7 separate regions of the Homo sapiens genome follow, and all the other regions are linked to region 1. Evidence: promoter capture Hi-C in 16 types of primary human blood cells and fetal thymus (Javierre and others, 2016). All regions are on one chromosome and are shown on one strand. The core of a region is centred on a gene start or on the middle of the fragment in contact, and the rest is flanking DNA. Distances in the headings are between cores, read along the strand shown.

Region 1 (3,786 bases), core at 740-3,239:
TTTATGGGCCTCTATTTTGCAGATGGTTCATTTCAAAGCATCAAGTTCTACATACATACATACACACACACACACACACACACACACACACACACACACAACCTAATCAGGCGGTTTCCTGGGCAGCTACAGAAGACTCAAATGATCTCATGGACTTCACTAATGTTTCTAGTTGGTGCCAAATGTTTCAGAAATTTTGAGGTAGTCCACTTACCTAAGGTGATACTAAACTTCCAGAAAGCAAGAATTTCCGTAATAAGTGAAAGAGGATGAATGTACAAAAATAATACTAGCTTTCAATTAACATATGAATATTGTTCTGTATGAAGAGGCAGTTTCCTACCCAAGTGAAAAAAGAATAAAGCTGTTGCCTCCTTAACATTAAACATCCCTTCATCACTAAGAGGAGACTCTAAGGCCTAGCAAAAGATTTGAGCCTAACATTTTGGGTTTTTTTTTTTTTTTTGAGACGGAGTCTTGCTCTGTCGCCCAGGCTGGAGTGCAGTGGCGTGATCTCGGCTCACTGCAAGCTCCGCCTCCCGGGTTCACGCCATTCTCCTGCCTCGGCCTCCCAAGTAGCTGGGACTACAGGCGCCCGCCACTACGCCCGGCTAATTTTTTTGTATTTTTAGTAGAGACGGGGTTTCACCATGTTAGCCAGGATGGTCTCGATCTCCTGACTTCGTGATGCATCCGCCTCAGCGTCCCAAAGTGCTGGGACTACAGGCGTGAGCCACCGCGCCCGGCCGGGATTTTTTGGTAAGCAGCAGCGTAAAAATCACTCTCAAGGTTTGAGATTGGGATCCAGCATAACTGGTGACTTGACCTTGGGCAAGTCACTTAATTCCTTTTAGTCTCAGTTTCCCTGATTGTAAATGAAGTCAACACCACCTGGTAAAGGTATTACAGGACTGGTGTGAGGATGAGATGATACATGTGAACATATTATTAAATATGTAAACTATAAGGCAATAGTAAGCAAATGCTAGTTACTATTCTATGTAATACAGGCCTAACCTTTCCTGCCTATGTCCTGATCTGTAAAAAGAAGACAGGTTGAGATCTGAATGTCTATCCACTCACTTATCAGCTGCGTGAACTTTAGCAAGTCATTTCCTTTCTGGGCCTGTTTCCTAAGAAGGTTATTTTTTAAGATCAAATGATATCGTGTTATGCAAATGCTGTCCAGACACATATTAAGAACTTAACACATGATGGCTCTTATTATTCTCTGGGGAGTAGGGTGGTAAAGAGCAAATGAAATTAAACCTAGTTAAGAGAATTTGTATATGCACACAAAACTCTACAGACATCCAAGGTACCGTTATTTGCACTGTAAACTGCCAAAACATGCAGGAAACGAGAAATCAAATGGCGCCTCAGTGATTCGCACTAGAGAGGGGGAGAAGGCAGAGCTTCCGAGAATCAACTGTTTTCCCCCTTATGGCCTCCAGCCTAGATTAGACCATTTATTCAACTTCCCAGCCCCCAATATCCCTGGACATTTATTTACTGTACCTTTTTCACTGAGAGCCTTTCCACTCCCCTCCCCTTCTAGTAGTCGTGAACTTCAGACCCTCGCTTCGACTCCCACTGCCATAACTGTTTTTAACCAAGCTTCCCTGAATCCTCCCCTCCGCCTAAGGAGGAAGTGCAGCTAGACGCACCGCACGGCATCCTAGGAAATGTGGTCTCTCAGACTCTTTGCCTTGGGCTGCAGAGTGGGGAAGACGACGAAGGAGAGCCCAGTAAAACTACAACTACCGGCAGGCAACGCGAGTCACCATCTTTCTTTCGCCCCTTTTCCTGTTGCCGTCCTCTTCCTCCTCTCCTCTAGCGCTGAACCGCTTGGCCTCACGGTACTTGTAGTTCCTTCTGGACTCAAGATCCTAGGGCTTGATGGCCAGCACAGAGGCTGGAAGACTCTAATTCCCAGAGGGCAGAGCGGAAGCTGCGCCTGCGCACACTCAATGAGGGCGTGTATGTCTGTGTCTGAGGGAGAGAGAGCGAGAGTGAGTGAGTGTGAGTGCGGGGTGGGGTGGTGGCCGTTACGTTCGGGGCAACGGCTACGGCAGTGGAGAAGTAAGAAGAGAAACAACGTCCGGCGCTTCCGCCTTCGCTTAGGAGGAGGAAGAGCTGGTAGGGAAAGGAAAGTGCTTCGCCCTGGGCCTGGACTGGACCGAGTCGGGTTGGTGGGGGTCTGGGCTATGAGCTTTTGAGGGTCGCCTGGGACGCGGAGCGAGACACGAGAGCCAGGAGCTATGTCTCAGCCGCCGCCGCCGCCGCCTCCGTTGCCGCCGCCACCTCCTCCCCCTGAGGCTCCACAGACTCCGTCGTCCTTGGCGTCGGCGGCTGCTTCGGGGGGGCTTTTGAAGCGGAGAGACCGGAGAATCCTTTCCGGGAGCTGCCCGGATCCGAAGTGTCAGGCGCGTCTATTTTTCCCGGCCTCCGGTTCTGTCAGCATCGAGTGTACCGAGTGCGGCCAGCGGCACGAGCAGCAACAGCTGCTGGGGGTTGAGGAGGTGACCGACCCGGACGTAGTGCTACACAACCTGCTGCGGAACGCGCTGCTCGGGGTTACGGGGGCACCCAAGAAGAACACGGAACTGGTAAAGGTGATGGGCCTTTCCAACTATCACTGCAAATTGTTGTCGCCCATATTAGCTCGCTATGGAATGGACAAACAGACAGGCCGGGCCAAGCTTCTCCGGGACATGAACCAGGGCGAACTGTTCGATTGCGCCTTACTGGGTGACCGCGCCTTCCTCATAGAACCAGAGCATGTTAACACTGTGGGCTATGGCAAGGACCGCTCCGGAAGCCTCCTGTATTTGCATGACACTCTGGAGGACATTAAGCGGGCCAATAAAAGCCAGGAATGTCTCATTCCAGTGCATGTGGACGGGGATGGACACTGCTTGGTGCATGCTGTGTCTCGGGCTCTAGTAGGCCGAGAGCTCTTCTGGCATGCCTTAAGAGAGAATCTTAAACAGCACTTTCAGCAGCACCTGGCCCGATATCAAGCTCTGTTCCATGACTTCATTGATGCTGCTGAGTGGGAGGACATTATCAATGAGTGTGACCCTCTGTTTGTACCACCTGAGGGTGTTCCCTTGGGCCTGAGGAATATCCACATATTTGGTCTTGCCAATGTGCTACATCGTCCTATTATTCTGTTAGATTCCCTCAGTGGCATGAGAAGCTCTGGTGATTATTCAGCCACCTTTCTACCTGGGCTCATCCCTGCAGAGAAGTGCACTGGGAAAGATGGTCATTTGAACAAACCAATCTGTATTGCATGGAGCAGCTCCGGTAGAAACCATTATATCCCCTTGGTAGGCATAAAAGGGGCTGCTTTGCCCAAACTGCCTATGAATTTGCTTCCTAAAGCATGGGGTGTGCCTCAGGACCTTATTAAAAAGTACATAAAACTTGAAGAGGATGGTGGTTGTGTTATTGGAGGTGACAGAAGTTTGCAAGATAAATACTTACTTAGGCTTGTTGCTGCTATGGAAGAAGTCTTTATGGACAAACATGGTATCCATCCTAGTTTGGTTGCTGATGTCCATCAGTATTTCTACAGAAGGACTGGAGTGATAGGAGTTCAGCCTGAGGAAGTCACAGCAGCTGCTAAAAAAGCAGTAATGGATAATCGCCTTCACAAATGTTTGCTCTGTGGTGCCCTTTCTGAACTTCATGTTCCTCCAGAGTGGTTGGCTCCTGGAGGGAAATTGTATAACCTGGCAAAAAGTACTCATGGACAGCTGAGGACTGACAAAAATTACA
Region 2 (3,786 bases), core at 822-3,321, 640 kb after region 1:
CAGGAAGGGGAATATCACACTCTGGGGACTGTGGTGGGGTCGGGGGAGGGGGGAGGGATAGCATTGGGAGATATACCTAATGCTAGATGACACGTTAGTGGGTGCAGCGCACCAGCGTGGCACATGTATACATATGTAACTAACCTGCACAATGTGCACATGTACCCTAAAACTTAGAGTATAATAATAAAAAAAAAACATTAAAAAAAAAAAAAAAAAGAATCCTGAAACTAAAACTTCTTTTATCCCTCTGTTTTTCACAATTAGCTTTCTTCTGCAGTTATACACTGTAGTGTGTGTAAAATTACTCAGTATATTACACAACTTTTAAAATTAATAAGGAAGCTGAAAGTTATTACAACAACTGTGTAAAGCCTATGCCATGATGGAATGCTCTTTCTTATGCTCCTTCTTGTTGGTAATTGCTTCATAATTATCTTTTATTAAAGGCAACCTGCATGTAATACCAGAAACATATGGAAAATCCTTACAGGAAGTACACATTTTAGTTGGCTAAAAAACAATCTAATGGCCTAGAAAATACTTACCAGACATCTCTAAGGTTAATGATGGCGCTGATGACTATAAAAGTTAGGTCTCTATTTATATTTAAAAATTCTTCATTTCATTTCATTTTCTTTCAGAATTTGGATCTTTGGGCTGATATTAGTACATTTGCAATAAATTTAATTGGAAAAACGCTGACTACCTGCACCCAGGGACTGCCTGGGCTCAAACTTGCAGATTAATTACGGATGCAAGACATATATAGCTTCATGTATGTCAAACCCTGGACAAGTCTAAGGAGGCTCCTCCTACACTATCATGTTAATTCCAAATAGAATATTAATTCATGGGATAAGTCACAGAAGGCTCATATAGAAGATATATTAGGTAAGTAAGTGTAGGTCGGATACCACGGATGGATGTAATAGCCAGCCCCACACCTGCCAGATAAAGTGTTTACTCATCTGTACATTCAAGGGTATACACACACACATTCATAAACAAAGTATTATCTACCTAAACAGGAAAAGACAAGGCCACAGGAAGACCGTATATTTATTATAAAGTAAAAATCTGGTAAATTGTATACATGTTTTTTTAAGAAAAAAAGGATTACTTCTAATCAGCCCTCAATTTACAGTAGCTAGTCAATTTCCCTGGTTTTATTTTCACTGTTATCTCAGTGTTTTGAATGGGGTCTTCAGTGCTTTTTCTTGTCATTGACCAAAGCTTATCTTGTATGGAGGTGCAGAGGCTAGGAGAATATCTGCTTTTACCAATAACCACACCAAGGTGATAAATGAGATTTCCTCCTTTTAGAATATTCTAACTTAGAAAATCAAAGAGTTAGTTCAAATATGAACCAATACATTCATTCATTGTGGGGCAGAGTGTATTGGAGAGGCCACCAGGCTAAGAGTGAGGGGGCTTAAACTTTAGTCCCCAGCACTAACTAGCTTGATACCCTTAGCTGAGACACTTCTCTGTGTGGTTTCTCCTGGAAACGAAGCTGTGGAATGGATGATCTTCTAGTTCCCCTCCGACTCTAAAATTCTGCAGTATGCGACAGGCTGCAGCAGCATGTGACTAACACAAGGATCAGGGAACGTTACAGTCAACAAATGCAAATGGAGATGAGTTAGGACATTCTGTGTTTTGTGGGTATTATCTGAGGTTCAGCTTAAACTTAGTTTTCAATGGCTATCAATGAAGGAAGCCTAAAAACTGGGCCAATGAGATTTTAATGTTCAAGTCTTAAGTGGTTATGATTAGATCATAACCTAATTGTGAAAATCACAGTGACTTCTGTACAGAAGTTGAATGTGTGCTATGAAGTTTATGTGCAAGTATATTTTGCTTTTATCTGGATCTCTCAGTTTTACATGCTTTGGGGACTATTACTACTTTCATAGAGTGTGAGAGTATTGACCTTACTGCTGTGATATATTTATTCGTGATGTGTTGGAGGCCAAGGAGAGTTAGAGTTGTGTCCTGTGGATAGAGAATCCATCTCCTCCTCTTCTTGTCGATGGCTGTTGGGGTCCCCTGTGGGTAACTGACCTACCTGTCAGAACATGGACTCTTACTCCCACTGAGGGAGCATCGCCATCAACTCTGACCTTGCAGGCAGAGCTCAGCGTGCCTGCCTGAGCTGTCCTGTGCTCCAACTCCGGGGTCGCAGTGTGCTAAGACCCAAGGGAGTCCACATGGGGATGAGTCAGGGCCTGGCGCTGGCCCCATGCTCCGCCCCACTGGTAAACAGAACAGTTCTTTGCCGTCACTCAGAGCCTCTCAGGGCCCCAAGACTCCAGGAAGAAACAAGTATTGTAGAAGCCAAAACCCCAAGGCAAGGTAAAGAAAACAGAACTGTCCGCATCCCCAGCAATGATTTCACTGGCAGGAGTTGCTGGGGGCGGGGTGGGGGGTCCGGTATATGTTCCAGCAGAGCTGTTTTACTTACTTCTCAACCAAAAGGCCCTTCTCTTTTACTCTTTATAGGGGTATCCTTTTGCCTTTCAAGATTTGAACTTTCAAAACTTGACCTTAGAGTCAGTCTTGCTTGCTAACCCATAATACAACTTTGCACCTTTTATTACTTTTGTTTGTTTTTGTACTGGCTTCTATTAAAATACTTCCTTAGTTAACTTATTTTTGTTTACTCTACCCTGTCATCCGGGGAGGAGCTATTGAAAGAAAAAAACCTCTAAATAGAAATATATCACCAGCAGCACAAGTGGACTACAGCCTCGGAAATGTCCTCACCGTCCGGCTTCATGGCAAGCAGCCTGGCTGTTGGCAAGATGCGCCCAGCTCTGCTTCTGCTCGTGTGGAACCTTACATTACCCTAACGCAGCTGGGGCACAAGCCGTCTGTGCTTATACTATTCTTCTTAAGCTTGGAGACACACTCACCTTGAGATCTCTCCTCTTTTTCATCTAGACACTGGCAAGTCCTGTTCTGAGCTTAGCAATGCCAAGTACCTGAACTGGAGGCATGGCTGGCTGATCCCTTCTAGCTCCCTCCAGTAGTGTCCCACCTTGGCTATATCAGTAACTGCGCCTCCTGTTATTTCTCCTTCCCAGTTGTCAAGGTCAAACCTGGGCTGGATATTGTGATGTCACAGAGTGGAATCCTCACTCCTCCAGATGGTCCAGCTGAGGCCCTCTTGGACAACACTTCCTCTCCTGCCCATGGTGGGAGGTTGGGAAGGACATTCCCCCATTTCCATTTGCTCTGCCATTCAAAACCTTGTGAGGGCCCTCAGGGAAGAATCCCTTTGCAGGTCATAAACTGACCTGCAGAATTATGGGATCTTAACTGTGGGGAGAGACCTAGAAGACCGGCTAGTGACCAGATTCTCATCTAACTCCTTTTTTTTTGCAGATGAGGAAACTGAGGCCCCACGTGGTGAAGACAATTTTTACCCGAATCCACCCACAACAAGAGACCATTTGGATAATGTACATTATGGGAAGAGAACAGAGTCTCAGTGAAGATCATGTTTCCCCAGCAACACAGGTGCCAGGAGTAGCTGGCTCTGGTCCCAGCCCAGACTCAGAAATCCTGAGCCACCAGACCATTTCTAGATTAACAAGTAAGGTGACTTCTGAGCAACTAATGTTTTCATTGAGATTTGATGATAAGCAGCAAAGCTCAAATGAAAGTCCAGAGTTAGTGTTGGCAGGGCGAGATGGCTCATGCCTGTAATCCCAGCACTTTGGGAGGCTGAGGTGGGAGGATCACTTGAGCCCAGGAGTTTGAGACCAGCCCGAGCTATAT
Region 3 (3,786 bases), core at 418-2,917, 620 kb after region 1:
AAGGGAAGGAGAACAGGGAATTAGGCTTTACTGAGCCCCTCCTATGCACCAGAATGACAACTTTCGTATATGGTGTCATTTAATCCTGTTATCGGTACTTAGGGACATCAGAGAGGGACCCCCAAAAGCTTAGGAGTAAGATAAATAAAACGGTTTTCTGAGAGTTAAAATGGGAGATCAGTGCATGCTGGATCAGGAAGAAGCTATCTTATAAAATCATCTTAAAGAGATAAATGGCTCCTGGGCCTGCAAGACCTGATAGAACCTGATTAACTGCATAATCGTAACTGACAGTGTCAGGTTCTTCTTGTGTCGGTTATTCAGGAGGATGAGCAGACATGGGCAGGCAGAGAAAAACAAATGCGGAGGCCAATGCTGGCTGGGCCATCCAAGCACTATTGCAAGGAAGGAGGAAAAGGACTCAGGCCCCATTGGCCAAACGGTTGCTCTTGAGAGAAGCCCATCCAGCAATTTTGGCCCTCATTGTTAAAATTCGACTAATCTAACTCCATGCTGTCAAGTCTCCTTTTGGTTATTATCTGGCGTCCTACATAAGTCTTCCTCAAGGAAGAGAATGCACTGGTCACATGGATTCAGTTCTTTTCACTGGTCTCAGGGACAATTCTATCTCCTGGTAAATGAATAAATTGGAATCTGTTGATGATTTGTCTTGCCCTGAGATCCACCCACAAGGAGGGCATGAATGGGTCATGTTGACACAAGTGGTCTTCATCCAAGGATAGCTATTTCCCTTCATAAAATAATGGACATCCAAAGTTTGTGCACCATCCGGAGAACGTGGCTGCAGGGAGTGTGGCCTTCAGCAAGGCCCTGCTCTCTGGCTGCCGCCATCTCAGCTGGTTGAGCTTCCAAGGCTGAGAACTGGACAGCCTTTCACTGTTTTGACCACGGTAAGTTCATGATATGGTGATGAATACTGTCATATGAAGTCTTTAGAAGACAAGCAGCCTGTAGCCCCCGAGGGGCAGCGGGCATATACCTCTCTCCTTTGCAATCTCATTTTATGGATGAGAGAAGTGAGTCTCCCTGAAGTAAAGCAACTTGCCCAGGTTCACACAGGCAAGTTTTGAATTTAGAGCTATCTGGTTCTAAAGCCCATGTTCTTACTGGAGTGTCATATTGAATAACACTTGACATTTCTAAGATACTTTACAATTTACAATTTCCCCCAACTAGTATCTCATCTAATCCTCACAAGAACTCTGAATAGTGGTGACACTGAACTGAAGCAGCCTTGCACTGTGTCCAGCTGCAGGACGTGAGGGGCCCTGCAGCTCTGTCCACGGTGAGGGGCCACAGGAAGGCGCAGTGGGATCTAAGGGCTATGGTGGCAAGTGTTTTCCCTCTGCGCAGCCACTGAGCCTGCACGTGGACTAAGAGGGAGCTCCTGAAGGGGTTAGTTAGGAAAGTAGAGTTACCTGGAAGTAGAGGAATGTGTGGGTTATGCAAGAATTTCAGAACTTCTGCAGGGAGCCCAGTTTGTAAGCCACACAGGAAAGAAGATTCCTGGTCTCTGGGTCAAAACCTCCTGAGGATTTCCAGGAAGCCCTGTGGCTCAGGGCTACAGGAACCACATGAGCCATAGCCCTGAGCGTTTCTAGTCTTGTTAAACATGCTCCTACCACCTCTCCATTCCCAAACTCCTGGTTCTTATTTTCCCTGCTGACTGGGTGGTGACAGGATGGGGGCATGTTAGGTTTGGCGTTGGGCAGCACTTTTACTGGGTACACCAATGTCTGTGAGCAAAGCAGCCTAACGTTAGCATTCATGCTTTTCACAAAGGAAGACTCCGAGGTTTCTGGAGTTGAGGGTGCCTGAATCCTGTCCAGTATCTTTTCCTGTGTGAGGAAAGCAGCCCTGGGGAGCCTGCAGAGCCCTCTGGTGCCCTTTGAGGATGGTTTTCTCCAAGGCTCCCTCCTTCAAAATTATCCCAGGTGTGGAAAAAGAGAAATGGGCTCAGGCAGGGGCTGCTCCCAGCCCCTTCCAGAGAACAGTCCTGGAAACAGCCTGGAGCCTGTCTTTCTCTGCCCCAGGCCTTTGCTTCTCTACCCTCCCTTTTCTAGTATGAAAAAAAAAGGCAGATTCCATTTCTCGAAGAGTTTCATAGATAAAAACTCACACCCGGGAAGACACAGTAGCTAGCTAATTCTTTGGTTTATAATGTTTTTTCCAATCATCACTTCATTTAAAAATTGAATCACATTATAATCTATTCCCACTAAATGAAATTCCAGTAGCCAACTTGTTTGATAATATGCATTGATCAATATTCAGAATGGGTAGTATAGAGTGTTTATTGTCTGTTTCATCTTCTTTTGCCCTATTCCCAAATATTTCCTTTCAGACAGACAACATCTTTTAATGAAGAAACTTTTTTAAAAAGTCCATTTGCATCATGTTAAAATGCAAGCAAAAGATAGTTGGTCAATGTGGGAAGTAGTTGGCTGACTCTACACACTGAAACATGAAGGAACCAAAAGACCAGAAAGCTGCTTTGTGCCTCAAGCAGCAACAACACACTACTTTTTCTGCCTCCTTGTTAAGCTAGAAACCAGATTCTTCATATATTATTGATTTCTATGATATTTAGTTTCAGATTCAATAGAGTAATACATTGAAACCTTTAATGACTGTAAAGATGTTATGTCCTGAGAACATAATAACATAAAATCTCTTCCTTAAATAACCTTAAATAGTGGGCCCATAACCTTTTAAAATTCCTTATATAAAATACAACTTTTAAAACTCTTTTTTCTGTAACCTTTTGAATTATAATATTCCTATGCAAATTTCAAGTCTTTATTATTTATTCATAGTCCCTCATCTATCAGGCATCCAATGGGGAGAAAAATCTTGTCGAGAAAAGTCATTAAGTGATTTAATTTTGAACATCTAGTACATGATACTTAATCTTCTGAACTTAAAATTACTTTCTAGCTGCACGACAAAGCCATTAATATTACAAAAACCATTGACCTCTATAGAGTGACTACCAAACCAGGTACTGCTCAGGTGCCTCTTGATAATGGATGTAACTGAAAGAAGGTACAACCCCCCAATGACAATAGGCACTGACTCAAAGTTAACAAAAATTTTAAAGATTCTAATTCCAGGGGTCCTACGGGTGTGGTTCTAAATCTTTCGTGTTGAAATGAAATCTTCATTTCGAAGCAAAAGAAGCTTCACCTATATCTATTATGTGAAGTTTGAAAAAATAGAAAAAGTCAAACTATGCCTTTCTTGGCAGGGTCCCTTCACAACTGAGAAAATGAATGTGGGCAGAGGAGATTAGATCATTAAACACAGCAAACACACTTTCCATGGCATTCACTGGGGAAATCAACAAGTTTTGCTGCTTTGTCATTACTTCTATGATTCCTTCATAGAAATTTGTTTAGTGGAGCAAAATTCCCATAAGCCCAAATAATGTATCTTAAAGCTAAATGAACTTCCAAAATGCAAATCCTATGTTTAAAAGTAATAATTCTCCCTAGCAGGATTACTTATTTGCTATTTGAAAACAATGCTCTTGGCCGGGCTCGCACCTGTAATCCTAGCTCTTTGGGAGGCCAATGCGGGTAGATCACCTGAGGTCAGGAGTTCCAGACCAGCCTGGCCAACATGGTGAAACCCTGTCTCTACTAAAAGTACAAAAATTAGCTGTGGTAGCGGGTGCCTGTAATCCCAGCAACTCAGGAGGCTGAGGCAGGAGAATCACTTGAACCTGGGAGGCAGAGGTTGCAGTGATCCGAGATGGCGCCACTG
Region 4 (3,786 bases), core at 840-3,339, 600 kb after region 1:
CATGTCTTTTTGATATACTGTGTTCTTTCCCTTTGTGTAGATATTCAGTAGTGAGATTGCTGGATCAAATGGTAGGTCTATTTTTAGATCTTTAAGGAATCTCAATGCTGTCTTCCATAGTGGTTGTACTAATTTACATTCCCACCAGTAATGTATAAGCATTCCTTTTTCACCACACCTGTGCCAACATCTATTGTTTTTTGACTTTTTAATAATGGTCATTCTTGCAGGAGTAAGGCGATACCTCATTGTGGTTTTAGTTTGCATTTCCCTGATGATTAGTGATGTTGAGCATTTTTAAATATGTTTGTTGGCCATTTGTATATGTTCTTTTGAGAAATGTCTATTTAACACATCCAATTATCTAAAAAATAGCCTGACCATCAGATTTCCAGCCACGTAGAGCCAGTCTGCTTTACCTACCCTGCAAAACCTCACTCCACTTCTGCTGGCTTTTGATAAGATGGAGCTTTGTGGTTATAAGACCTCAAGCTTTTATAGTTCTTTGGAGCTCTCTGACTCAAAAGACCTGCCATGCTGCTGGATGACATAACTAGACCCGTAAGCCCCTCTTTTGACCCCCTCTTCCTTAGAAGTTCCCTCACCCTCCTCTCCCAGATGGTGCCCCTTCACTGAAAGCCCCTGGGCAGTCTTATGCTATGAGGGCCCCTCTCACACAGCCATATCGAAGCACCCAAGCACCAACAAAGCTTATGATGTGTTATTGCCTCTTGTGGTCATATCTTTTCTCTTGATCAGCCCCTAAATCCTTCAACCCTACAGCCCCCTACAACCACTTCATGCACTTGCACCTAGTACAACTGCCCTCCCACAAGAAGCTTGAGTACAGTATGTGGCTGAGAATGCTAGCAGGGCTTAGGGACTCAGGAGCCACTGGGCCAGGATTAGTCTCTGTCCTTCATAAGGGACAGAATAGAAAGCTCGGGGCACCATTTGGTTTCAAATTGCAGATTGTGATGCCAGTGCTACCCCTGCTGTGTAATTATTTCTAAAACACCTGCTACCATAGTACATGATTCAAGTACTTTGACCAGCAAGGCCCCACTGAGGACACACTGAAGGCCACATTACACAATCCTATGATTTTCTCACATTTGCAGATGGAATATCTGAGCAACTCACCCCAACCATTGTTTGAGTGTTCTCTCATTTTCTGGGATGCAGTCACCTTTGTGATTCAAGACAGATGGCATGAGATAACAACACGAACCGTAGATGATGATCTGTTTCAGAGAATTGGTCTTTTCCCTCGTACAGAACCATATGGAGAGTCAAGTGCTGACCTCTAGTGGTAGTGGAGTTGGTGAAACCACTGTGTCTCAATCATCGCTTGAAAAGTATTTCCCCACATTTTTACTAGAATGTGTATTAACTTGACTTTATGAGGAATTATACTTGATTTTTTAAATGTAAGGATTAAAAGTACAACAATACTTAATCTTTTTTTAAGGTAGCTTTCTGGTCACTACAGTTTTTTCCTATGGCTGATTAAGAGCCAGTTCATTACCCTCTCTAATAAGGTAGAAGGAACTGGGATATTTGTGCAAACACAGTAGATAAAATACATGTCCAACACCAATCATAAGGCACTACTTTAGGGGATGAGGACCTGAACTTCTGACACCAGTGGGTCACTGACAGCTTTTAGCACGCCACTAAGATTTCTGTGTACTGTATAATATAATCCTTTTCCAACAACCTACCAGCCCACAGCTCACTCAGAATCTGTAGGCTGCATACAGCTCAAAATATCTGTATCTGGCCCAAGCTCCCAATAAAAGTTTCTGGGCATCTAACTTTATTATGTTTCCTGGGGGAAAATTTACATTTGTGGTTTTTCTTCAGGCCAGCAATCTCTACTGAACTAGAAGGTCAAGGGAGGATAAGACTGCGGTGTAGGAGAAATGGCTGTATAGACTTCCTCCGCCTGATATCTTGTCTCCTACTTTCAATAGCAGCTCGCACCCCTGGTTCTAGTCAAAGCTCTCAGCAAGCACTTGCTCTCTCTAGGCCTTCCTCCTGCCGGCTTCTGGCTTAAGTTCCAGTGACAAAGCTCCAAGCAGGTCCTGGTAGTTTTCAGAAGCAGTCCCTGCCAATAGCTCTTTTCAGGCTCCCAGTGTCTCTAGTCTTTCAGTTTTCTCAGTGCAAAAACAAACAGCATTATCCTCTGATCTTTACGTCAAGCTCTCACTTTCTTATTCTTCCTAAACCCATTTTTCCCCAAACTCACTTTTTAAACCTAATAGGACCTATTTTTCTAGACTGGCAGTCTCACTGACAATTTCCTTAACTATACAGGCTGAATCTTGTGTTCATGCACTTGAATGCTACTCAAACCATCTTACTCAATTTCTTAATCATTCTGATTTCCTGTTTCACCCCCAAGAAGATGACATTAGCTACCCACTAATTCCACTCCTGTTTCTCTGCTGGCCAGCATTGCTGGAGAAGATTGCACAACCATGCAAACCAGAGCCAGTAAATTTAAAGAGTTTACTACATAGAGTAAAATTTAATAAGGTTGAAAAGATATGTCTCAAAGACAAGCAAAACAAGGGAGAGTACAGTGAGTGGGATAGATGAACTTGAGCATAGGGTTCATATTAATGAATACAATGAATATTATATGTATATTCATCTCTCATAGTATAATATAAATAATTATCCAATACTAAATAGATATTGAGTGAATGAGTGAGTGAAAAAGTTACGGATCGTAATGATTCTGGCACCTAGGAATGACTGAGATTGGCACTGCATGAAGAACTAAGAGGTTCGATCAAGTGAAAGACTTGACGAGGGACAAGGGAGGTTATGCAGCCCACCGGAAGACAACTCTTCCAAGTGGGCTGTGAGTATGGCCTCACATACTCTTCTTTTCAGTGGAAGGTTTTAGAACTCAGGAAGCAAATTAGTGCTTGATAGAGATTAATGTCAATTAATCTTGTGAGCTTGAATCATCACTCTGCCTTGTAAATATTTACAATTCTTCTATTAACTATGCATTCCCCTGACATTTACACTTTATTCATAAGCAGTCTCTGTTTTCACCTGTAATTGCTAATAAAGATGGGTAAAAGCACCACAGATTGGGGTTGCCACAGATTATTATGGAAATGGCACTCTTTTCTGCTTCTTTTGAAAACAGAATTTGCCTCACTTTGGTCTACTCTGAGGCAACTCATTTCTGCAGAACCGGAAGATAATTTCTAGAAAATTCCATGTGAAGTCAAATGAAAAAGAACAGTCAACTGAGTCTTCTGCTGTCATGTGAATCAGAATACTTGGTACCTTGTCAACAAGGAGGAATTAAGCTTATTCATGAGACACAGAGACCCAAGTGCTAATGTGCAAAACTAGTTCACTTTGATTTTTTGTTTGTTTGTTTTTTAGAGTCAGGGTCTCACTCTGCCACGTAGGCTGGAGTGCAGTGGTGCAATCATGGCCTACTGCAGCCTCAAACTCCTGGGCTCAAGAGATCCTCCCACCTCAGCCTCCCAAATAGCCAGGACCACAGGCACATGCCACCAAGCCTGTCTATACGTTAATATCTATTTAGGGTTTTGTTTTGTTTAGAGACAGGATCTCGCTCTGTCACCCAGGCTGGTGTGCAGTGGCATGATTATAGCTCACTGCAGCCTCAAACTCCTGGGCTCAATTGATCCTCCCACTTCAGCCTCCTAAATTACTGGGATTACAGGCAACAGCCACCACAGCCAGCCTCACTCCAATTTTGTGGCTCTCTAAAAAGCCAAGGAAGAGCTA
Region 5 (3,786 bases), core at 578-3,077, 590 kb before region 1:
TGTATTGGAAAAATTAAAATTCATTTGAATTTTGAGATTAACCTTTGCAGTATAGGGATTTTTTGTGTCTGTTTTGAGATGTTTAAAGCAGAGTAGATAAGGAAAGTATATACCAAACCTAAAGTAAGAATATATACGATTATATACATATGTATATACATATGATTATATGTGAAGTTACTCCTGTTTTAAACACAATATTGAGCAACTATGCATTTACCACAAATTTACTTGATTTTATATAGGACTTTAAAAATTTATTAAAGAATTTAATAATTCAAGATTTGCCTCTGGCATATTTTTGGCAGTATAGTCAAAGCAGCTCACCTTCAGGGCTTTTATTATCGAGCATGATGACTTCTATTCTACGGCTTTATAAGGTAGTTCACAGTTGGGATTTGTTTAGATATTTTTACACCAGAATTTTCAGTCTAATTTTTTCATTTGATTTTTCAATCTACACTAGAGTATTTTGACCTGGGTTTACATATGTTTGGTTTTAAAAAGCTATGCTTTAAAAGACATTTGGTTCTCTAAATGAATAAGCAATATTATATGCACCTGTGCAATGTCTTCCTATACATATGTACATACTCATGTTATTTTGAAGAAATATTAAAAATTCCTTTTATGTCTTTTCATAAGTACCTAGACTGTGAAAAGTTTCTAAGGACATACCAGTTAGGGAGTATTACCTTCACAACAGTGTCCCGTCTTTAGCATAACAGTGCCTGTTTGCAGAACATGTGCTTGGAGTCCTAGTCTAGCGGTGGCAACTGCTTGTTGTCCAACTGTTCCTTATCAGCTTGCTGCCTGGTGTCATGTGCTGCTATGCAGCCTGCAGCTGTAGAACAGCTTGTGAGTTTCTATGAAGCTAAGTAATCTGTTAGAAAATTGTACCCGTGATCTTGGCCTCAGTTGATTTAGATAACTATAACAAATGACAACATTTTAAAATACAAATAACTTTAAAGGAATTTCTTAAAACTAATTCTCATTCTTAGTTCTTTTCAAACTTAAAAAATAGGTGGATTTTAACAAGCTGTTTATGTTCCCTTTTCACCCAGAATATTTATAGTTAGGCTACTTTTTATGTAGTGTGTGGTGAGTCAGTGATTAAAAAAAAATTTTAGGCATATTTAGAACACAATTTTTGTGTATACAATAATCATCAGTAGTAACAACTGGCTTTAAGTGATTTAAACACTAAATAAGGCACAGCTTAATACAAGCACACGAGGATAAAAGTCAAGAGTAGAATGTTCCATAAAAGATGGCAGGAGAAGAAAAGTAGGATTTTGTTTTATACAGCTTCAGAATCCCACTATGGCAGAAGTGTTCTGTGTGAAGCAGTGCACTTATTTTGGGGACCTCAAAGCAAAGTATTCTGTACGCCCACGTATGGGATCCCTAACCCAGATCCACAGGCAATTAACTGCTACTTCAGATTTTCTGTCAAGACTTTTCTCTGCCTCTGATTGGCATAATGCTAAAACATTTTGCCATGCTTAAAATTTCCAGGTGATTTTAATCTTCCTTTACTTCTTATTGGCAGCAGTGTGTAGTCTTTTATTTTGTTATTCCTGGTGTGTTTTTTAAGCATTCACCTGAACTTTAGGTAAAAAAGCTTCTTTCTTTCATTTTTTTTTTTTAGTGCCATGACTTGAGTTTTTAAAGTTATAAGATAGTAGGGTTTTATTCCATTAAATGATACGTTAAACACTTGAAAACTTTCATGGTAATATTTTTACATATTTGTAGGGAAAGCACTCCTGCCTCCCTTTCTGACATGTTAGAAAAATCTGTTTGCAGAATAATCTGAAGTAAATAAGTGTATATATCCCAGTTACATTTTCTGAAAGTTTTGGTTCCTCTGTACTTTTGTTTTTGTTTGAGACAGGATTTTGCTATGTTGCCTAGGCTGGACTTGAATTCCTGGTCTTGTGCCATCCTCCTTCCCCAGCCTCCTGAATAGTTGGGACTACGGGCACATAACACCACACTCTCTATAGTTTTTGCAAGCTTCTGATGACTTGCTTGATTGTTTTTCTGTGTACTTTCATGTAAATTTACAGGAATTATATCTTAAGAGTTACCTTAAGTTCTTTATGGAAGGTGGTAGAAATATATTTAATTAAATAAATACCTCTTCAGAGACATCATATAAGACGTAGAAATATATTTAATTAAATAAATGTCTCTTCAGAGACATCACATAAGACTTCTGGGTTTTATCTATCTAGGTTTCTGGAGGTAAAGTGTAAACATTTTGGCTATGCTAGTTCCCAAGTTTGGTAATGGGGTTACCGTCTTACAGACTCCAAACTTGTATTCCACAGCTTTATCAAGGTGCAAAAGGCATTTCTGTTTAGGGTACTCTTATACAAGACAAAACATTCCAAGGATACTTTGTACAGATCACCTGACATAATTCAGTTGCCACAGTGACTCAGTCAGAGAGATTGTTAACTGGTTTTAAATAAATCTCAAGTATTGTTACTCTTATACCCACTGTATATAAAGTCAGCTTTAAATTCATTAACAGCACATTTATGTTCTTCTAAACTAAGATTTGAATGTTTTTGATATCTTTATTTCCAATAATTGTCATGGCCCTTTTGAGAGACTGCAAAAGCTCTTAAACCTTGAGCAAAAACAAATATTTTCATTGTTCAACTTCCCTCCTTTCTGGTTGCACATTACTCATGTCCACCTCAGAGCATGAATTAGTTTATGCCAGAATGGATCTTTTCTGTATTGCCTTCATTTTCTGTGATTTTTTTCATTTTTATCTATATTTTGTTGAATACTTTCCAGTTTCTATCCTCAAAAGTATTTACAAAATCTCTTATGTAAATATTCATATCCTTAAAATACAAGTGTAACCTTTATGTTAATTTTTAGGAATTATAATGGTTTTTCATATCTAGGTGAAAAATAAAATGACAAAGGAACAATACATTAAGATGAATAGAGGTATCAATGACAGTAAAGACCTTCCTGAAGAGTATCTATCAGCCATCTATAATGAAATAGCTGGGAAAAAGATATCAATGAAAGAAACAAAAGAACTAACAATCCCTACAAAATCAAGTAAACAGAGTAAGTATCTAAATTAATTGAATTCTGATTGTTCAAGGGGAAAAATATGGGTTCCTAAGAGTTTTTCACTTATGGTCAGGTGTGGTGGTTTGCATTTATAGTCCCCAGCTACTCAGGGAGGCTGAAGCAGAAGGATCACTTGAACCCAGGAGTTCGAGACCAGCATATGCAATATAGCAAGGTTCTTGTCTCTAAAAAAGAAAAAACTTTTTAATTTAAAAGAGAGTTTTTCACTTGATTTAGAATAAAGTAACCTTAGAAATATTGTTTAGAACCATGTTTTGATGAGAAATATTATAATAGAGTTTGGTGATATGATTGTATTTTTTCCCCACATTCTGAAGAAAGATAACACTGACCAGTGATTAATGGAAAATGGTATACATTATATGCATGTGTCAGTGTGCATTTAATATATGCTGATCCATTTAGTAGTTAACCTCAGCAGGGATTTGGAGGTCATAAAGAGTAGTTAGACCCAATAGTCAGGCTTCAACCCTTGTCATTTTTTCTTCTTCCTCATCATCTTCAAGCAATATATTTCCATTTGTTCATCTTTTGTTACACATAAATGGAAGCTGGAAGTAGGGATGATTGGAGGAGGTGGGGAGGTTTAGGATCAGGTGAGAGCTCATAGAGTTAGAAATTTCTACCTCAAACAGACCACAAGTTACATCACTGTAG
Region 6 (3,786 bases), core at 919-3,418, 560 kb after region 1:
GAAAATCAAATGAGATTATAATGGAGAAAAACACAGCTCCAAATGCACATTCTGTAAGCTAGCAGAGACAAAACCATTCTCCCCATGGAGCTCACAAGAGACTCCACGCACAGAGGCAGCAGCACAGAGGTCAGCCGCCCACAATGTTGTGCAGCCGTTGCTGAATTTTTTGCCAGGGAGATCCCACTGGAGAATGGCTTAAGTAGAGTAGATTTGCCAGACTAGAGCCTGTGGAGTGGTATAGGGCTAGGGAGTAGGGCAGAGTAGAGCCTAATAGAGATGGAAGGAACAGGAAGGCCACCGTACCCAACTCTCAGAGCGAGTTCTTTCTTGAGTTGGCAGGTTGGAGGATCTTGGGCCAGCATGGCTGTTCTCCACTCATGCACCATAAATGCAAAGCCTGATAGTCCGCAGGACACAGCCATTTTTACAGATAGCAATGTATCATGAAGGACACGTTATGTTTACCAGACATTTGGGAGGAAATAACAACAACTTCAAAAAGAAAGTCCAAGATGAACAAGTTAAATAAATGACCGAGGAGAAAACAAATAATGCAAAGAATAGAACAGAACTATTTAACAAAAAAGTAGTTAGGGATATCCTCAAGGACATCCAAGAGAGAGTTACAGCAATGAAAACCAAAATACAGTGATATTAACAGGAGCAACTAGGGAAGAAGAGAGTTCCTGAATACTAAAAGTATGATTGCTAAGGTGAAAAGTAACATACTGGTCATGGCTAAAGATCAGCTATGAAGATATAGAAGATAGAATGGAAAATATATCCCAGGACATCAGACCATGGAAAGCAAAAAATAAAAACATGACACTGGGTACAGTGGCTCACCCCTGTCATTCCAGTACTTTGGGAGGCCAGGGCGGGAGGATTGCTTGAAGCTAAGAGTTTGGGACCAGCCTGGGCAACAAAGCAAGACCCCCATCTCTACAAAAGATACGAAAATTAGCTAGACATGGTGGTGTTTACCTGTAGTCCCAGCTACTTGGGAGGCTGAGGCAGAAGGATCTCTTGAGCCCAGGAGTTCAAAGCTGCTGCGGGCTATGATTGATTGCACCATTGCACTCCAGCTCCTGGGACAGAGTGAGATCTGGTTATACACACACACACACACACACACACACACACACACACACACCAAAAAAAAGATAGAAAAGAAAAAAAAAAGAAAAGATAGATCCTGAAGACATAAAGAGTATCTAATATGAGCTCCAGAAAGAGAAAACAGAGACAATGCAGGGGTAAGAATAAAAGAAAGACATTGGTCATCAGATGGAAAGGATCATGCAAGTTAGGATGAATGAAAAATAACCATGCCTGGACACAGCCTAGTGACATTCAAAAGCATTGAGGATAAAGATGAAACCCTGTAACTTTCAGAGATGGAGGAAAACAAAGCAAAATCTAAACAAGAACTAGGCTAGCTACAAAGGAATAAGAATTGGATTATGATCAGACTTCTCATCATCATTACTGGATGCTAGAAGACAGTTGAGCATGGCCTTCAAAGCTCTGCAAAGAAATAATTTTAAGCCTAGAATTGTATGCCAATCAAAGTAGCAATCACATATGAGGACTAATAGTTCATAGTTGCAAGGTCTCATAAAGTTTAAATCTATGATTCCTCTCTGAAACAAATAAAAAGTAAGTAAACATTATTTGAGGATGTTGTACTGGATGGGTTCTCCAGTAAGCTGAAGCTCATGCAGAATTAGAGCACAACATTTTACAGGGGAGTAACATCTGTGAATGGAAAAGGGGAGGACACAGGATTGGGTAGGGGTAGTCATTAGACAGTGATGCAGACCCGACAAAGTTTCTGCCAACCCTCTTGGTGGCTCCAGAGCAAAGATTTCCTTTTGGAGGAGTCTCAAGTTGGGCAGAAATGGTGGGGCCCTAGCATCACCACCTTGCTCAGTCATTGGCCAGAGGCTTAGAACCTTGGCTAGAGGAGTTAACACCTGATGGCTACTAGTTAACCATCCTCCTTGCAGCTGGGCAGTGAGTTCTTTCTTGAAAGGCAGTCTAGCAGCATGTCTCTGTGTATGCCATGGATGTACTTCAGCAAAGCAAAGTAAGAATCCAAGAAGGAGGAGTACACAGGATTTAAGAAAAAAGGAAACCAACCCAGGGACTCAATGAAAAGAAAATCTCAGGTTGACAGTGATGCAGCTGGCAAAGAAAGCAATCAGGACAAATTAAGGGGAGGAAAAAAAAGTTAGAGGGCTCTGGGAAGTTTATTTTTCAAAAAGAAGCGGATTCTTTTACAATAGTAGTGTGATTAAGGATCTGGGAGACCTTAGAGATATGATAAAGGCACATGTCACTTTTCTCAAAAAGACAGAACGAAGATACTCAGGGATTTCTAAAAAAAACAAAAAAACAAAAAAAAACTTTATAAAAAATACGTGGTTCAAATATAAAGCAAACTGAAATATGGCACAATTTTGAGAAATTGATGGCATGCTTGTTGTTGGGCTGAATTGTGTTCTGTCTTCCCTCCCCACCCCAATTTATTTGTTGAAGACCTAACCCCTAGTACTTCAGAATGTGACTGTATTTGGAGATAAGGCCTTTAAAGAGGTAATTAAGCAAAAATGAGGTCATTAGGGTGCACCCTGATCCAATACAACTGGTGTCCTTATAAGGAGAACAGAATACAGAGACAGCAGGCACATGCATGCATAGAGAGAAGGCTACAGGAAGACGCAGGGAGAAGACGGCCATCTACAAGCCACGGAGAGAGGTCTCAGAAGAAACCAAACCTGCCAATACCTTGAGCTTAGACTTCTAGCCTCTAGAAGTGTGAGAAAACAAATTTATCTTTTTAAAAGCCACCCAGTCTGTGATATTTTGTTATGATAGCCCTAACAAACTATATGGGGATGGTGAAGAAATTTGCTTTTGTTTCTGCATTTTTTGACATCATTACATTTTTGTTTAACCATATGTAAGTTATTTTACATAACACGTATGGGTCAGAGTGTCCCATAATTGTCATCTAATTATAGATATTCTGTAATAAAAATTGCTTAAGAATGAAGAAACTGAGGCCCAAATATGTGAAATGACTTATCCAAGGTAACAGAGGGGAGAAGTGGCATATGAGATCTTAGGCCTCCTGAATCACAGCCAGGGCTTTCTGTAGCACTGCTTGGTCTCTCTGTCCTCAGATGGACACTTGGGTTAGGGATATTGGGCTGGCAGCTGCTACTCTGGGAGGAAGGAGGTTGAAAGGCAGGTTCTGATGCCAGTACGGTCAGAAAATGGACATTCTGGGAGTAGAAAAGCGTTTCATCTATTAAAGGTTATTCTCTTCTCACCTCTAAATCCAAAGGTGAAATCCCTTAAATTTGTTAACAGCAGTGCTCCAAGGAGGTGTGTCAAGACTCCGTGAAATGTGAAAAAAAAAAGCCATTGTTTATTTGAAAAATTATTCCTTAGACATATGTGCACTAAAGAGCTTTCAAGTTTTTCCTTTCAGTCAAGGAAACCATTCTACAGATCAGGAAGCTCTACCCAGAAAGATTAAACAATGTCTTTAGGATGACCATCCAGATTAGGGGAGCAAGGCTGTATTCAGGCTTACTGACTTATCCATGGTTTTCTCTAAATATGCACCATCTCCAAGAAGGATATTTGTGAGAAACCACAGAGATGTTGTTTCTAGGTCAGAAAGGGAACTATTCTGGGGAATTCCAGGGAAGGTACACTTGATTCTCATTATTCGTGTAATTACATTGTATAAAGTCATTTTGAACTCTGATT
Region 7 (3,786 bases), core at 334-2,833, 540 kb after region 1:
GGTGTTAATGAGTCACTTCATTCTTAAATTGATACAAAAGCATGGGCACCAACTCCCCTCTCTCCTGCTGTGAGCAACTCTCAGTCTCACTGGGAAGGACTGACTTGGAAAACCATTTTTCCATAAAACAGTCTGTGATTGATAAACAAGCATTCAGCGTAGCAACCCATTAAAACAAACAAACAAAAACAAGTTTCAGATGGGCTTGACACATGGAAGAGTGGAAGAGTGTTACCTGGTGGACTCCTGCTTGTAGATGTCAATGATATTTTCCACCAGCAGGTTCCTCTGAAGTCCATATACCCCATGTCTATCCAAAACCACTTCATGTCTACAGGATGGGCAGCGGAATCGGCCCCCTGATGCCATGGTGGTACCTCCTCTTGTGGGCAAATACGGGTTAGAGGCCTGTTCTTGCCAAGTAAGAAAAAAGGAATTGGGTAATGCCACAAGCAGCTTCTCTGAGACTTATTTTCACTCTCTGCTACTACAAACAACATGAACTTCTACTTTAAGCTTGCCATAAGATCATCCCTCAGGGCTTTCTCAGCAAGTGGTCCTGAAACACAGGGTCAGACCTTATCCACAGTCATCTGCGAATATACCATTGTCCACGTAAGGTGCTTTTCCGTCCACCACTTTCAGAACCAAAAGTTCCAGCCAGAAACTCCACACTCATGTCTTCAGCAGTTACTCATTTATAGTTTTGAAACACATTAAATGGTTTGACTTAAAAAAAAATATGATTCTTAGTATTAAAATAAAACTAGATTTGGGAGTAAAGAGGACACAAACCAAATCATTAAAAGAAACGTGTTTTTCTTGAAAGTAAATGCAACTTTATAAAGTTTTTTTGTTTGTTTGTTTTTCTTTTTTTGAGACAGAGTCTTGCTCTGTTGCCCAGGCCGGAGGGCAATGGCACGATCTCCGCTCGCTGCAATGTCCGCCTCCTGGGTTCAAGCAATTCTCCTGCCTCAGCCTCCCAAGTACCTGAGATTATAGGTGCCCGCCACCATGCCCAGCTAATTTTTTTTTTTTTGTATTTTTAGTGGAGATGGGGTTTTGCCATGTTGGCCAGCCTGGTCTCGAAGGCCTGACCTCAGGTGATCCACTGGCCTCAGCCTCCCAAAGTGCTGGGACTACAGGCGTGAGCCAAAGCGCCCGGCAACCTTATAAAGTTTTTTAAAGGATTTCACCTCAATGTTAAGCACTTGATTCCAAGAGGAGGGAATCTTTTCCACCCCCTCCCCTCAACCAAATTCCAAACAAACCTACCTGGAAAATATCACTGGCACATTTCCTACACAGGTTGTGCTGACAAGGGAGAATCACCACAGGTTTCGTGAACATCTCTAAGCAGATGGGACAGATGAGTTGCTTCTCTAAGTTATCCATGGTCTGCTGCTCTTTGGAAAAAGATTTGTAATTCAGAGATGCGCTCATCTCCTCGCTGTCCCCAAGTGTGCTGCCAGGGAAGGGTGCTGCGAGTGGCTCCAGCAAGTGTTTCCTGGATATTATTCCAGGGATTGTGTGATCAAGTGTCCTTTACGTTTCTCTCGGTGGAGGACATTGTTTCAGGCCCTGGTTTGGAGTGGGTGCTGGAGCTGTTTTTAGCAGCCTGCGGTCACGTGACGGTGGGCTGACGTGTCCATATAAGCCAGTGACAGGAGGATGGATCCTGACAGGTGACGGAGAGCAGGAGTCAACATTCTTGCCCCAGGGAGTGAAGAGAGTGGGTGGGAAGGAGGATTACAAACCCCATTTAGACGGGGTTGTGAGGAGAAGGAGGTCGAAGCTGACAGTTGTCAACAACAAATGCAAATGTGCATGCCTAGCCACTGAACCATGCCCTCTGTGAGCACTCACTGAGAACTTGGCGATGGCTTCTCCAGGAAGGGGCAGAACGCAGCACAGAGTCTGTGTAACTAATGCCAGCCCTGTCTTGAGAGTGTAGGAATTGAGTCACGGAAAGTAGCCTAATAGCACCTTCTTAGGTGAAAATGAACAAAACATGTCTCGAAAATTGTTATCCTGGCTTCACAAAGGCAATCATCAAAAAGACTTTCTTAATGTTAAGTATTTCATCTTTGTCAGCTGGGGTTGTGGTCTTTGAAAAATTCCAATTTAAAAGCTAAATTCAAATCCCTTCACCATAAAGGTATCCACCTAATAAATAAATAAATACATGCATAAATAAAAATTCAAAACCAGTGGATGATCTAATTATTTGAGAAAAAAGTTACATTATAAAACAACTCTAGTATGCTGTTTGCTCTTCCACATTGCTTTCCTCTTCCTTGGCCCTCTTTCATCCTATACTGCCCCACCTCCTACATACACCCAAAAACACAAAGAAAATTTGATAGTCTTTTACTGATTATTTAAATTCTTAAATTATATAATAGTTTGCAACAATAATCTGTAATGAGGTAGTAACTGGCAGGCACCTGGAGGTGGCAGATCTATTATTTTATTTTGTCATCCCTTGGGGGACAGTTACCAGTGCCATTGACAACTGAAGTATAAATGGAGTCCTACTTCCATATCTGCATTTCATCTGCCTCCAAAATACCTATTCTCCCTTGCATTTCCCCTTCCTCCAAGGTGACTTGTTAAACCATAGTTTCTCTGGTCATTTCTGATATTCTTGGTCTGCTCTTGAGTCATAAACATCGATTCTGACATTCATCAGGATTTTGTGAAGCAACAGTTTAACCAATACATATTGTATTTAAAAATGTTTAAATCAGATCAAAAATAAAAAAGAAATCCAAGTCTGTTTATATGTGATAAATTTCGGCTTTCTTTCTCCTTCATTTTAAAAACCTTGGGCAATAAACACATTTTGTTAACATATCCCTGGTGTGAATTAAATTACCAGTGAAGTGTAGGTCAGTTATGTGTGGTCTTAGTGCTGTGTGCACGGAGAGCTTATTGAGAATCTAGTAAGCTCTATTAACTAATAATAAGTTATATATATTCATAAGCATATCAGGGATCTTTAGAGAATTATCTTAGTCCTTTCAATATTTATTTAGCAACTACAGGGAGGACGGGAACTGGTAAAGTTTTTTTACTGAGTTACTTTGGTTCACCCAGCCTAGGCAGTTAATTGTGTTTATCAATTCATGGGCTATGGAGGGGAGGTCTGAGTACAATATGTGGGATATTTTCTAGGAAAGATTAAGTTTCTACTGCAAAAGACCTTGCTATCTAAGTAAAAGCACTTAGACTAATCATGCACATTGCAGCAGAGTCTTTTCTTTTAGAAGGAATTCATTCCTTCAAAATACATTCATTGGATATGTGTAGTGTGTCTCCATTGTGTGAGGCTCTGGGTATTGAAAGATGAACAAGACATAGGTCATTGGCCTCAAGGAGCTCAGTATAAGAGTGGAGATGAGACATGCACACACAGAACATAGTACAAAATAAAATGTGATAAAGAGTACAAGCCAAAAAGTACCTGAGACAGGTCTCAATCGAGAAAGTTTGTTTTGTCAAGGTTAAGGGCGCGTGCCAGGAGGCAGGCCTGCATCTTTCTCCAAAGAAGATTTCGAAGGCTTTAATATTTAAAGGGAAAAGAATGGATATTGGGGAAAGAGAAAAAAAATTTCAGTTGTGGGTAGATAAGAGGCAAACAGTTGCATTCTTCTGAGTCTTTGATCAGCCTTTCACCAAATACATAATTTACATGTTGGGGCTGGGCGGTGGGTAGAGGAATAATAGTCATTTATGTCTTCCTTTAGCTCAGTGAGTCTGCATTTTTACATTAGAGGAAGAAAG

Evidence for each region. The method cuts DNA at HindIII sites, captures the fragments that hold promoters and counts their contacts. A CHiCAGO score of 5 or more calls a contact.
Region 2: a fragment that was not itself captured here is called in contact with the fragment with the promoter of VCPIP1 in region 1 in 2 of 17 cell types (M0 macrophages and M1 macrophages); the score reaches 5.9 in M0 macrophages.
Region 3: a contact is called between a fragment that was not itself captured here and the fragment with the promoter of VCPIP1 in region 1, in 1 of 17 cell types (M2 macrophages). The highest score is 5.3, in M2 macrophages.
Region 4: a contact is called between a fragment that was not itself captured here and the fragment with the promoter of VCPIP1 in region 1, in 1 of 17 cell types (M2 macrophages). The highest score is 5.0, in M2 macrophages.
Region 5: a contact is called between a fragment that was not itself captured here and the fragment with the promoter of VCPIP1 in region 1, in 1 of 17 cell types (erythroblasts). The highest score is 7.0, in erythroblasts.
Region 6: a contact is called between a fragment that was not itself captured here and the fragment with the promoter of VCPIP1 in region 1, in 9 of 17 cell types (fetal thymus, erythroblasts, naive CD4 T cells and 6 more). The highest score is 6.6, in fetal thymus.
Region 7: a contact is called between the fragment with the promoter of TRIM55 here and the fragment with the promoter of VCPIP1 in region 1, in 3 of 17 cell types (M0 macrophages, M1 macrophages and M2 macrophages). The highest score is 8.2, in M0 macrophages.

What each region holds. Positions count from the first base shown.
Region 1 is chr8:66,665,434-66,669,219 of GRCh38, reverse strand. VCPIP1 (valosin containing protein interacting protein 1) reads left to right here and starts at 1,989. Exons shown (of 3, transcript NM_025054.5): 1 at 1,989-3,786. The coding sequence starts at 2,262. It overlaps C8orf44-SGK3 (C8orf44-SGK3 readthrough), which reads right to left and starts at 1,624. Exons shown (of 19, transcript NM_001204173.2): 1 at 1,519-1,624. C8orf44 (chromosome 8 putative open reading frame 44) reads right to left here and starts at 1,624. Exons shown (of 2, transcript NR_161217.1): 1 at 1,519-1,624. RefSeq lists enhancers at 1,392-1,901, 2,272-2,791, 3,042-3,101. The HindIII fragment of the contact is 1,085 bases long and covers 1,620-2,704 here.
Region 2 is chr8:66,020,838-66,024,623 of GRCh38, reverse strand. It overlaps DNAJC5B (DnaJ heat shock protein family (Hsp40) member C5 beta), which reads right to left and starts at 3,071. Exons shown (of 6, transcript NM_033105.6): 1 at 2,919-3,071. LOC105375883 (a long non-coding RNA gene) reads left to right here and starts at 3,143. Exons shown (of 7, transcript XR_929008.3): 1 at 3,143-3,200; 2 at 3,391-3,601. The HindIII fragment of the contact is 1,665 bases long and covers 1,239-2,903 here.
Region 3 is chr8:66,043,881-66,047,666 of GRCh38, reverse strand. The region is part of intron 2 of DNAJC5B (DnaJ heat shock protein family (Hsp40) member C5 beta); the gene reads right to left. Among named protein-coding and RNA genes, the nearest start is that of DNAJC5B, 24 kb to the right of the region's middle. The HindIII fragment of the contact is 3,073 bases long and covers 131-3,203 here.
Region 4 is chr8:66,062,637-66,066,422 of GRCh38, reverse strand. All of the region lies in intron 3 of DNAJC5B (DnaJ heat shock protein family (Hsp40) member C5 beta), which reads right to left. Among named protein-coding and RNA genes, the nearest start is that of DNAJC5B, 43 kb to the right of the region's middle. RefSeq lists a silencer at 1,915-2,209. The HindIII fragment of the contact is 2,496 bases long and covers 842-3,337 here.
Region 5 is chr8:67,252,767-67,256,552 of GRCh38, reverse strand. ARFGEF1 (ARF guanine nucleotide exchange factor 1) reads left to right here. Exons shown (of 39, transcript NM_006421.5): 18 at 2,931-3,102. Among named protein-coding and RNA genes, the nearest start is that of ARFGEF1, 89 kb to the left of the region's middle. The HindIII fragment of the contact is 395 bases long and covers 1,630-2,024 here.
Region 6 is chr8:66,107,294-66,111,079 of GRCh38, reverse strand. No RefSeq gene overlaps it. Among named protein-coding and RNA genes, the nearest start is that of TRY-GTA5-1, 4.2 kb to the left of the region's middle. The HindIII fragment of the contact is 6,679 bases long and covers 1-3,786 here.
Region 7 is chr8:66,124,926-66,128,711 of GRCh38, reverse strand. It overlaps TRIM55 (tripartite motif containing 55), which reads right to left and starts at 1,583. Exons shown (of 10, transcript NM_184085.2): 1 at 1,276-1,583; 2 at 236-408. The coding sequence starts at 1,443. RefSeq lists a silencer at 1,765-2,037 and an enhancer at 3,753-3,786. The HindIII fragment of the contact is 5,122 bases long and covers 519-3,786 here.